Linked DNA regions of Homo sapiens: region 2 is linked to region 1. The links are contacts of gene promoters, found by promoter capture Hi-C in human tissues and cell types (Jung and others, 2019). All regions are on one chromosome and are shown on one strand. The core of a region is centred on a gene start or on the middle of the fragment in contact, and the rest is flanking DNA. Distances in the headings are between cores, read along the strand shown.

Region 1 (5,126 bases), core at 1,303-3,802:
TAAGGGAAGCTCTATATACTTCTGTATTGCTGAAAAATTGTACTGTGACAAAAACATATTTGTGTATTATTTGTACACTTTAAAAGATCATCTTTAAAATGGACTTCTGACCAAAGTCCAGGTCTCAGATTTCTATTTTCCTCACAACACCAAGCCTGTTCTAGCCCGCTCCAGGTCTAGAATGCTGCAGCACTAGGCTCGCATTGCCACTCCCATACCCGGCAGGACGTGGCAGGGTCACCACCCTTTGGCTCAGCCCAGACCAGGCATTGCAATTCTTCTCACAGAGCCCTTGATATGAAAACTATTTGCCATGCTGCCTTAAGCTAGTGGTTGGATTTCAGGCATGAGCTGGCAAATAGAAAAGGCAGGGAGGTGCTTTTCAGAACCTTTGAGATCAAACAGCCAGGGTGCTGAGCACCTTATTGCAGGGAGGACCATGCCCAATGTAAGGACCTGGCTCAAGGGAGACTGGAGTTTCTAGGGGTCTCTGGGATATGTGGGGCAGTGGGGACAGTGCAGAGACCTTTTCACAGAGCCAAGGAGATAACCCAGCACCCAGAGAGCAGACGAATCCACGGGCTCTGTGTGGGAGTGAGGGAGGCCTTCCCGGCTTTCACATCCAGGTGCACCTGAGCCCCGATCCCCCATGAGTCTGTCTCAGGAAGTAAATGGCAAAAGCGCTAAGTAGATAGCCCCAGAGGAGGAGGAGAATTCTGAATTCTGTTTATAGCTCTGCTCCTATTTTGTTTTCTAACCTCAGAAAACTGATTTATCCTTGGGAAGGGTCAGTTTCTTCATTAGGACAATGAAGAAAAATCCAGCTGTCCCTTCCAAGGGGAGGTATCATGAGCAGTATCAAGGTAAGCAAGGGAACCTGGTTTGGAATCCTGGTTGACACCGGCTTTCACTTTAAGAAGTCGCAAGAGACTGCCGCAAGAGAGGAAGCCACAGACCAGGTTGGACCCTGAGCCTGGAGTACTGCCTTTTCTCTTCTTTGCCTGCTAAACTCCTTGCTTGTCAAGATTCAGCAGAGATGACACCTTCTCTGGGAAGGCTTCCTGAGTCTCCTGCAGTGAGCCCCTAGGCTCCCCTAGCCCTTGGCTCTTATGTCTTATCTCTGAGAAATCTGAGATCTGCACTTTTGTTAGAAGTCCGTTTTAAAGACAATCTTTTAAAGTGTACAAATAGAAACCTTATCTTATTGTATTGCAGGCCTATCTCCTCCCCCGGTGTGTATCAATGCTCAGGCTGGGCCTTTGTCTGCTGGCTTGTGGAGGGAGGCAGGACAAGCCAGTGACCACATTCCTGCACTCTGGGCTGCCTCCTGTGGGGCCCGTGAGGAAGCGGCAGCCTTCCCTGCCGCGTGCAGGGCCTGGGTTGTGTGGGTGGCTCTCCCGAGTCTCCTCCAGCCCTTTTTGGGTCTGATTCTCTGACCCTCCTCTCTCTCCTTGCTCACCACTTGGCACTCCACTCCTTATCCTTTTGCTGCATTAAGTTTGGAAAGAGATTTTGGAGAAAATATAGCCCATCAACGAATTTCTCCTCCTCCCAGGGCCTGTCTAGGCGTGTGCCATGCCCACCCTCTTCCTTTCCAGCGCTGGCCACATCCTCCCTGCACCTTCAGTGCCTGCTTTCCCTGCCTCTTCCTGGGCTCCGGGTCTGTGTCCACAGTGTCCTGCGTGGCCCTCGCGCTGCCTCTGGTTGCCCACATTCCTGCAACTCTGTGACCACAGCAGGGGCGATTACACATTCCTGGCCTGGCAGCCAACAGTGTAAAAAAGAACAGAATGTCCTAGGGCCCCGCCTAGCCCCCAGCTTCACCTGGGCCCCTCCCGGGTCTGGACAAGGTTGGAGGGGGTGGCGAGGAATCAGCAGGAAAGAGGAGGGACCAGGAGGAGGCAGACGCATCCCACCTGAGTGCGCTGCTCCCACTTAGTGAGCGGGGAGGAGACCTGCAGAGACCTCTTCTCTCTTCTCTGCAGGGCCTGAGGGTGAGGCTGACCTGTGGGTGCCCTTGGAGGGCTGCCCACTTGCTGAGCCTCTAGCTCCTGGAAGCACACTTGGGACTCCCCCCTTGCTCTCCTTCCTGGAGACAGACTCCCTTTGGTGCTGGCTCCTTCTATTTGCCCCCACCACTGCCCCCCACCTGCCTCTACTCACTCAGTGCCCCTCCTCCATCCCTATCTCTCTGTCCTTCGCTGTCCCTCTCTATTGTCTCCCTCTTTCTGCCCTCCTGTCCTCCCGGTTCCCCACCCAGGCCCTCTCAGCCTGGCTGGCCCCTTCTCCTTGTGTTGCCCTCCTAGCTGTGGGCTCAGGATCCTTCTACTTGTTCAGATCTTTGCCCCTCACCTGCCATCCTGTCCCCCAGCCTCCTTGCCTGTCTGCGTCTAAAGCCCCTGCCCAGAGTCCGCCTTCTCAGGTCCAGTACTCCCAGTTCACCTGCCCTCGGGAGCCCTCCTTCCTTCGGAAAACTCCCGGCTCTGACTCCTCCTCAGCCCCTCCCCCCGCCCTGCTCACCTTTAATTGAGATGCTAATGAGATTCCTGTCGCTTCCATCCCTGGCCGGCCAGCGGGCGGGCTCCCCAGCCAGGCCGCTGCACCTGTCAGGTGAGGGGGAGGAGAGGTTTGGCTGCCAGATTCAACTGGAAAGGAACCAGTCCCAGTCCAGCCGCAACCTGGGAGTGGGAAGCTGGAGGCAGCCCAGACCTCCTGGAGCCCTGCAGTCCTGGGGCAGAGACAGAATCAGGACACAGCTCGAGGTCAGGGCCAGAGGCTGGAGCTGAGGGCCTAGAGTGAGAGGGGGCAAGGCAAGGGGGGGAGAGGAAGAGAGGCAGGATTAGAGAGAGGAGGCAGGCCAGAAAGAGGAGAGCAGGAGAGACCCAAAGAGAAACAGAAGGCAGATAGAGAGGGAGTGAGAGGCAGGAGCTGAGACACAGATCCTGGAGGAAGAAGACCAAAGGAAGGGGGCAGAGACAGAAAGGGAGGTGCTAGGACAAAACTCGAAAGGTGGCCCTATCAGGGAAGCAGAGGAGAGGCCGTTCTAGGGAAGCCCAGCTCCGGCACTTTTGGCCCCAACTCCCGCAGGTCTGCTGGCTCCAGGAAAGGTGGAGGAGGGAGGGAGGAGTGGGAGAATGTGGGCGCAGGGTGGGACATGGGCATGGCCAGGGGCAGCCTCACTCGGGTTCCAGGGGTGATGGGAGAGGGCACTCAGGGCCCAGAGCTCAGCCTTGACCCTGACCCTTGCTCTCCCCAATCCACTCCGGGGCTCATGAAGGGGAACAAGCTGGAGGAGCAGGACCCTAGACCTCTGCAGCCCATACCAGGTCTCATGGAGGGGAACAAGCTGGAGGAGCAGGACTCTAGCCCTCCACAGTCCACTCCAGGGCTCATGAAGGGGAACAAGCGTGAGGAGCAGGGGCTGGGCCCCGAACCTGCGGCGCCCCAGCAGCCCACGGCGGAGGAGGAGGCCCTGATCGAGTTCCACCGCTCCTACCGAGAGCTCTTCGAGTTCTTCTGCAACAACACCACCATCCACGGCGCCATCCGCCTGGTGTGCTCCCAGCACAACCGCATGAAGACGGCCTTCTGGGCAGTGCTGTGGCTCTGCACCTTTGGCATGATGTACTGGCAATTCGGCCTGCTTTTCGGAGAGTACTTCAGCTACCCCGTCAGCCTCAACATCAACCTCAACTCGGACAAGCTCGTCTTCCCCGCAGTGACCATCTGCACCCTCAATCCCTACAGGTCGGTTAGTCCCTCTGCCCCTTCCCTGGTGCCTGCGCCTGGAAGGGTGGTCCAGGGTGCTGAGGTGCTCACTGGGCAGGCAGAGCCTCAGACCTGAGGGTGGGAACTGACACCCCTGTCCCAGGTAGAGCTCACTGCTGGCAAAATGAGGAGCCTCCAGCTTACTGGACTGGCGTCCCTGCCCAGTGGAGCCATCCTAGCACCCCAGGCTCACCCAGAGTGTGGTTGTTGGAGCAGCATTGCCCTCCCCTGCCCTCTCTTCTCCTTCCCTCCCATTCCCTTCTCCCTCCTGCAAGTGGGAGGGAGTGCTTGCAAAAGGGCAGGGGTGTGCTCAGCTGCATCCCTTTTCTGGAGCAAGATGCCAGCAAAGTATAAGACCTCGTCCACCTCAGCAGGAGAGTCTGATGGAGGGGTGAGGCTAGGTGAGGGGAGGCGAGACCGTGCAGGTGCTGTGGAGGTGGTGCTGTCAGTCTTTGTTTAGAAGGGGAATTTATTATGGAGAAAGCAAAGAGGGGGATCGTGGAGGTTAGGGCTGCAAGTGAGCCCAAAGGCTGGGGGCAGGGGCCTTACAGAACAAGGAGAATGGGTCAGGCTAGAGAGCAGCTCCTTGTGAAGCTCTTCCCCCAAAAGACCCAGGCTAAAATGCTGCACTGTTGACCTGCCCAGGTGCCTGACCTTTACGTGCTTGGGTGTGTCCTGAACTTTTGGGTTTCATCGGTGCTCTTTGCCAATGTTGGGTCTGGAAACCGGAGCAGGTGGTAAGCGTGGAGAAGAGAGGAGGGCAGGGCTGAGTGCTTTTGTATACCTTTTATTTGTATTCACTCAGCCATGCCACACCTTGGGAACACCTGCTTCAAGCCAGACACAGGGCTAGGCACCTGGCAAAATGGATTCATGAATAATTCATAAGCCCTTTATTGAAGGCCAGGTAGTTTGCTGTGTTGTGGAGACAGATAAAATAAGATAGCAGAGACAGGCATATAAGCCAGTAACTGTGGCACACTGGGATAAGTATGATAAAAATGGTGAGTTAGTGTACCTTCAAGGAGTGCAAAATCTTTATGGGTGTGGGTGTGAGTGTGTGTGTGCACATATTGGTATGTGTGCGATTTTGGATGCTGGGGATTGGTCATGCTGTGGGTGGAGGCCCCTTCGTATATTCCATCATGTCCAAAGGTGCGTTACGGACTAAGAAAGGGTGGGACGTCCTGTCCTGGAGAGAGAGAGAAAAAAAAAAGCCAGGTCATTTCGTTGATTAACGTCTGTATAATGTCCCAGGTAGGGACCATTTCCTTAGGAAGCTGCCGTGTGCACAGACGCTGCGAAGGTGTCTTGGGTATCTCATTTCATTCTCACATCTTACAAGCCCGGTGCTATTG
Region 2 (4,039 bases), core at 1,540-4,039, 91 kb before region 1:
CTATTGTAATTAGTCAAATAATTTCCTTTTAGGTGACTTTGTGGTTTCATTTTTGTTGCATTTACTCTTGGACTGCTCCTGTGAAGTATGTTTGGTGAGATTCTGCTTCTGTTTGAGGAGTTCTTACTGTAATTTCTATTCTCCATCAAATTTGAGAGATCTCCCCCCTGCCTGTGGGTGCTTCCTTGGCCGAGAACATCTCATGACTTAGGTTATACTTCTGGGAATTCTTTAGGAGGTGAGTTTAGCCTCCATGTTTTGGGACATGGAGAGGAGTTTGTCTTGAAGACCACACACTAACTTTGAGTGGTACAGAATGAGAGAACATTCTCTGTGTGTATAGTACAGTAAACCAAGATCTCTCTTTGGGATGTAAGTAACCAAGGGAGTCATCTGAGACTGTCAAATCCAGAAAAGGAAGGGACAGAATGTCTATAATGCATGCACATTGAGGACAATTTCTAGCATTTTTGCTTCCTGTCTATGCTCTTGGAACAGTTTCCATAACTAATGTAATTGCTTTGGGCCCCAGATTCTATCTAAGTGAAACCCCCATTTTCTCTGCCAAAAACAAAGCAAACAAACAGTCCTGACTCACTCCACCTACATAGACTTTGCCTTTGGTGATTTTCCAAGCTGCCCTTATGGCAGCCCTGATTTCCTCATCTTGTGTGAAGCATAACCAATAACTGGGCATATAAACCAATAACCATAACCAATAACTTGAATATAAAAAGGGGTGAGCTGACAGACATTACAGTGTACAGCCTCCCTCCTGGCTCCCTTCACGGACTGGCATTGAGTGTCTGTGGCTTTTCCAGGCGCACGGTGCAAGCTACCAGTGGATCTACCATTCTGGGGTCTGGAGAATGGTGACCTTTTTCTCATAGCTCCACTAGGCAGTGTTCCAGTGGGGACTCTGTGTGGGGGCTCCAACCCCACATGTCCCTTCTGTACTACACTAGCAGAGGTTCTCCATGAGGGCCCTGCCCTTGCAGCAAACTTTTGCCTGGACATCCAGGCGTTTCCATACATCTTCTGAAGTCTAGACGGAGGTTCCCGAACCTCAGTTCTTGCCTTCTGTGCATCTGCAGGCTCAACACCATGTGGAAGCTGCCAAGGCTTGGGGCTTCCACCCTCTGAAGCCACGGCCCGAGCCCTGCATTGGCCCCTCTCAGCCACAGTGGGAGCGGCTGGGACACAGGGCACTAAGTCCCTAGGCTGCACACAGCATGGGGACCCTGGGCCTGGCCCACAAAATAACTTTTTCCTCCTGGGCCTCCAGGCCTGTGATGGGAGGGGCTGCTATGAAGGCTTCTGACATGGCCTGGAGACATTTTCCCCATGGTCTTAGGGGCTAACACTAGGTTCCTTGCTACTTATGCAAATTTCTGCAGCTGCCTTGAATTTCTTCTCAAAAAAATGGTTTTTTTCTTTAGTACTGCGTCTTTTCTTCTGCCAGATACCCTAAATTATCTCTCTCAAGTTCAAAGTTCCACAAATTTCTAGGGCAGGGGCAAAATGCTGCCAGTCTTTTTGCCAAAACATAACAAGAGTCACCTTTGCTTCAGTTCCCAACAAGTTCCTCATCTCCATCTGAGACCACCTCAGCCTGGACCTTATTGTTCATATCACTAACAGCATTTTTGTCAAAGCCATTCAACAAGTCTCTAGGAGGTTCCAAACTTTCCCGCATTTTCCTGTCTTCTTCTGAGCCCTCCAAACTGTTCCATCCTCTCCCTGTTAACCCAGTTCCAAAGTCGCTTCCACATTTTTGGGTATCTTTTCAGCAACACCCCACTCTACTGGTACCAATTTACTGTATTAGTCTGTTTTCATGCTGCTGATAAAGACATACCCAAGACTGGGAAGAAAAAGAGGTTTAATTGGACTTACAGTTCCACATGGCTGGGAAGGCCTCAGAATCATGGCGGCAGGTGAAAGGCACTTCTTACATGGCAGCAGCAAGAGAAAATGTGGAAGAAGCAAAAGCAGAAACCACTGATAAACCCATCAGATCTCATGAGACTTCGTCACTATCACCAGAATAGCACCGGAAAGATGGGCCCCATGATTCAGTTACCTCCCCTGAGTCCCTCCCACAACATGTGGGAATTCTGGGTGATACAATTGAAGTTGAGATTTGGGTGGGGACACAGCCAAACCATATCAGCGGGGAAATGCCATTTAGGACAAGGCTAGGCCATATGTCCCTGTAGCCATCATGGCAGAGGACTTGTTTGAGTTGAGTCAAAGGATAGCCCCAGATGAGATGTCTTGATGCCATCCTGGATGTCCCTGAACCCCATCCAAATGTTGTTGCAGAGTCTTTCATCTTTTACTTCTTGCCTCTATGGTTTGTCTCCCTACTTCAGATTGCCAAGGAGCAAGAATCCATTCTAGTTTTGTATAGCCTAATCATAATTGTTTAAGTGGTTTGGGGTGAGGATGCATGTGAGTCCTTTCTTTTTGTCTGTTTTTTTAGAGATGGGGTCTCGCTATGATGCCCAGGCTGGCCTCGAACTCCTGGGCTCAAGCGCTCCTCCCACTTCAGCCTCTTGAGTAGCTGGGACTACAGGTGTGTGCTACCACGCCCAGCTCCTTTCTTGTCTTGGTCACTTTGTGTACTCTGCACATGTCTTTCCACAGGTCTGCTCCAGCTCAGCCACCTGCTGAAGGGACAGAAGGGACTGCCCCAGGTGGGGGTCCCCCTGGCCCTCCTCCTAACATGACCAGTAACAGACGACTACAGCAAACCCAGGCACAAGTGGAGGAGGTAGGTAGATAGCTGTTTCTCTGAAAGTTTCCAAATCTAGGAGTTTGGAAACAAAAGGGAACTTCTTATCTTTTCTCCTTTTTTCGTAGGAGAATAGTCAAAGGCCCTGAGAGGCAAAGCACCCTTTAGAGTTGCACAGGGCCAGACTTGTGATTCTCTGGTTGTTGTCCTTTCCTCTGTCTCTGGCAGGAAGCTTAGCTGCTTTGTTTCTGTGCCCTCCTCAGGTGGTGGACATCATACGTGTGAACGTGGACAAGGTCCTGGAGAGGGACCAGAAGCTGTCAGAGCTGGATGACCGAGCTGATGCCTTGCAGGCAGGAGCATCACAATTTGAGAGCAGTGCTGCCAAGCTAAAGAGGAAGTATTGGTGGAAAAACTGCAAGGTGAATTTTCTTGTCCCCTCCTCCATCTTTTCCTGGGCTTCCACTGGTAGAAGGCAAGAAAACCCTCAGCTTCTACATTTCTTCCCTCTAATGGTGCAGGATCTCTCTGACCAGCATAACGCTTGGGAGGAAATCTGGAAAGCCTCCTCTTGAGATTGCATTACCCAGAATTGGCCACCAGGGTAGGCTAGAGTATTTAGAACCGCTATCAGGGAAAAAGTGATACCCTGAGGAGTTTGGAATGGTTAGTTAAGGAGCTTTACCCCAAAGGAGTTGCCTGCAAAAAATTTCACCTGTCTCATCCTCAGACACACCCAACATCAGCACAATGGCTCAGGCATATATACATACACACACACACACACACACACACACTATATATACACATATGTATATATACATATATATACATTTATATATATATATACATATATATACATTTATATATATATATACATATATATACATTTATATATATATATACTTTTTTCTTTTTCTTTTAAATCAGCTTTCTCAGATTGAAATATATATTTTTAAATAACTGCAACTTTTGAGAATGAGCTGAACACTTCACAGTGAAAATTGAACTAATTGGTTAAATATCCAGAGTCTGTATCTCTATTGGAATGCCTTCTAAAGCCCCAAGACACCAGGAACTAAGCAAAAAGGAGCTCAATGCAGGTCCTGTGATGAATCTGAAAAGCTACAGACATACTGTGGTTATGATCCCCTGGGAAGCAGAAGGGTAGGGCCTCTCTAAGAGGCCTGCAGGTCTCCTGGGTGATGGGTGGTTTTTTCCATTGTCCCAAGGATGGAAGGAATTCTGTTTCCCACTAGAGATGTGGCTCTTTTCCTCATTCCTGAAATCCAAGGGCTCATT

Evidence for each region. The method cuts DNA at HindIII sites, captures the fragments that hold promoters and counts their contacts. A contact is called where the count stands out against the background at its distance.
Region 2: a fragment that was not itself captured here is called in contact with the fragment with the promoter of SCNN1A in region 1 in 4 of the 25 tissues and cell types used here (liver, lymphoblastoid cells, mesendoderm cells and 1 more).

The regions. Positions count from the first base shown.
Region 1 is chr12:6,372,989-6,378,114 of GRCh38, reverse strand. It overlaps SCNN1A (sodium channel epithelial 1 subunit alpha), which reads left to right and starts at 2,552. Exons shown (of 13, transcript NM_001038.6): 1 at 2,552-2,610; 2 at 3,278-3,747. The coding sequence starts at 3,332. It overlaps LOC105369626 (a long non-coding RNA gene), which reads right to left. Exons shown (of 4, transcript XR_931591.3): 4 at 4,540-4,960. It also overlaps a transcript of LTBR not described here. RefSeq lists enhancers at 1,120-1,724, 3,541-4,145. The HindIII fragment of the contact is 22,523 bases long and covers 1-5,126 here.
Region 2 is chr12:6,464,962-6,469,000 of GRCh38, reverse strand. It overlaps VAMP1 (vesicle associated membrane protein 1), which reads left to right. Exons shown (of 5, transcript NM_014231.5): 2 at 2,650-2,776; 3 at 3,001-3,159. It also overlaps a transcript of TAPBPL not described here. Among named protein-coding and RNA genes, the nearest start is that of VAMP1, 3.7 kb to the left of the region's middle. The HindIII fragment of the contact is 4,857 bases long and covers 361-4,039 here.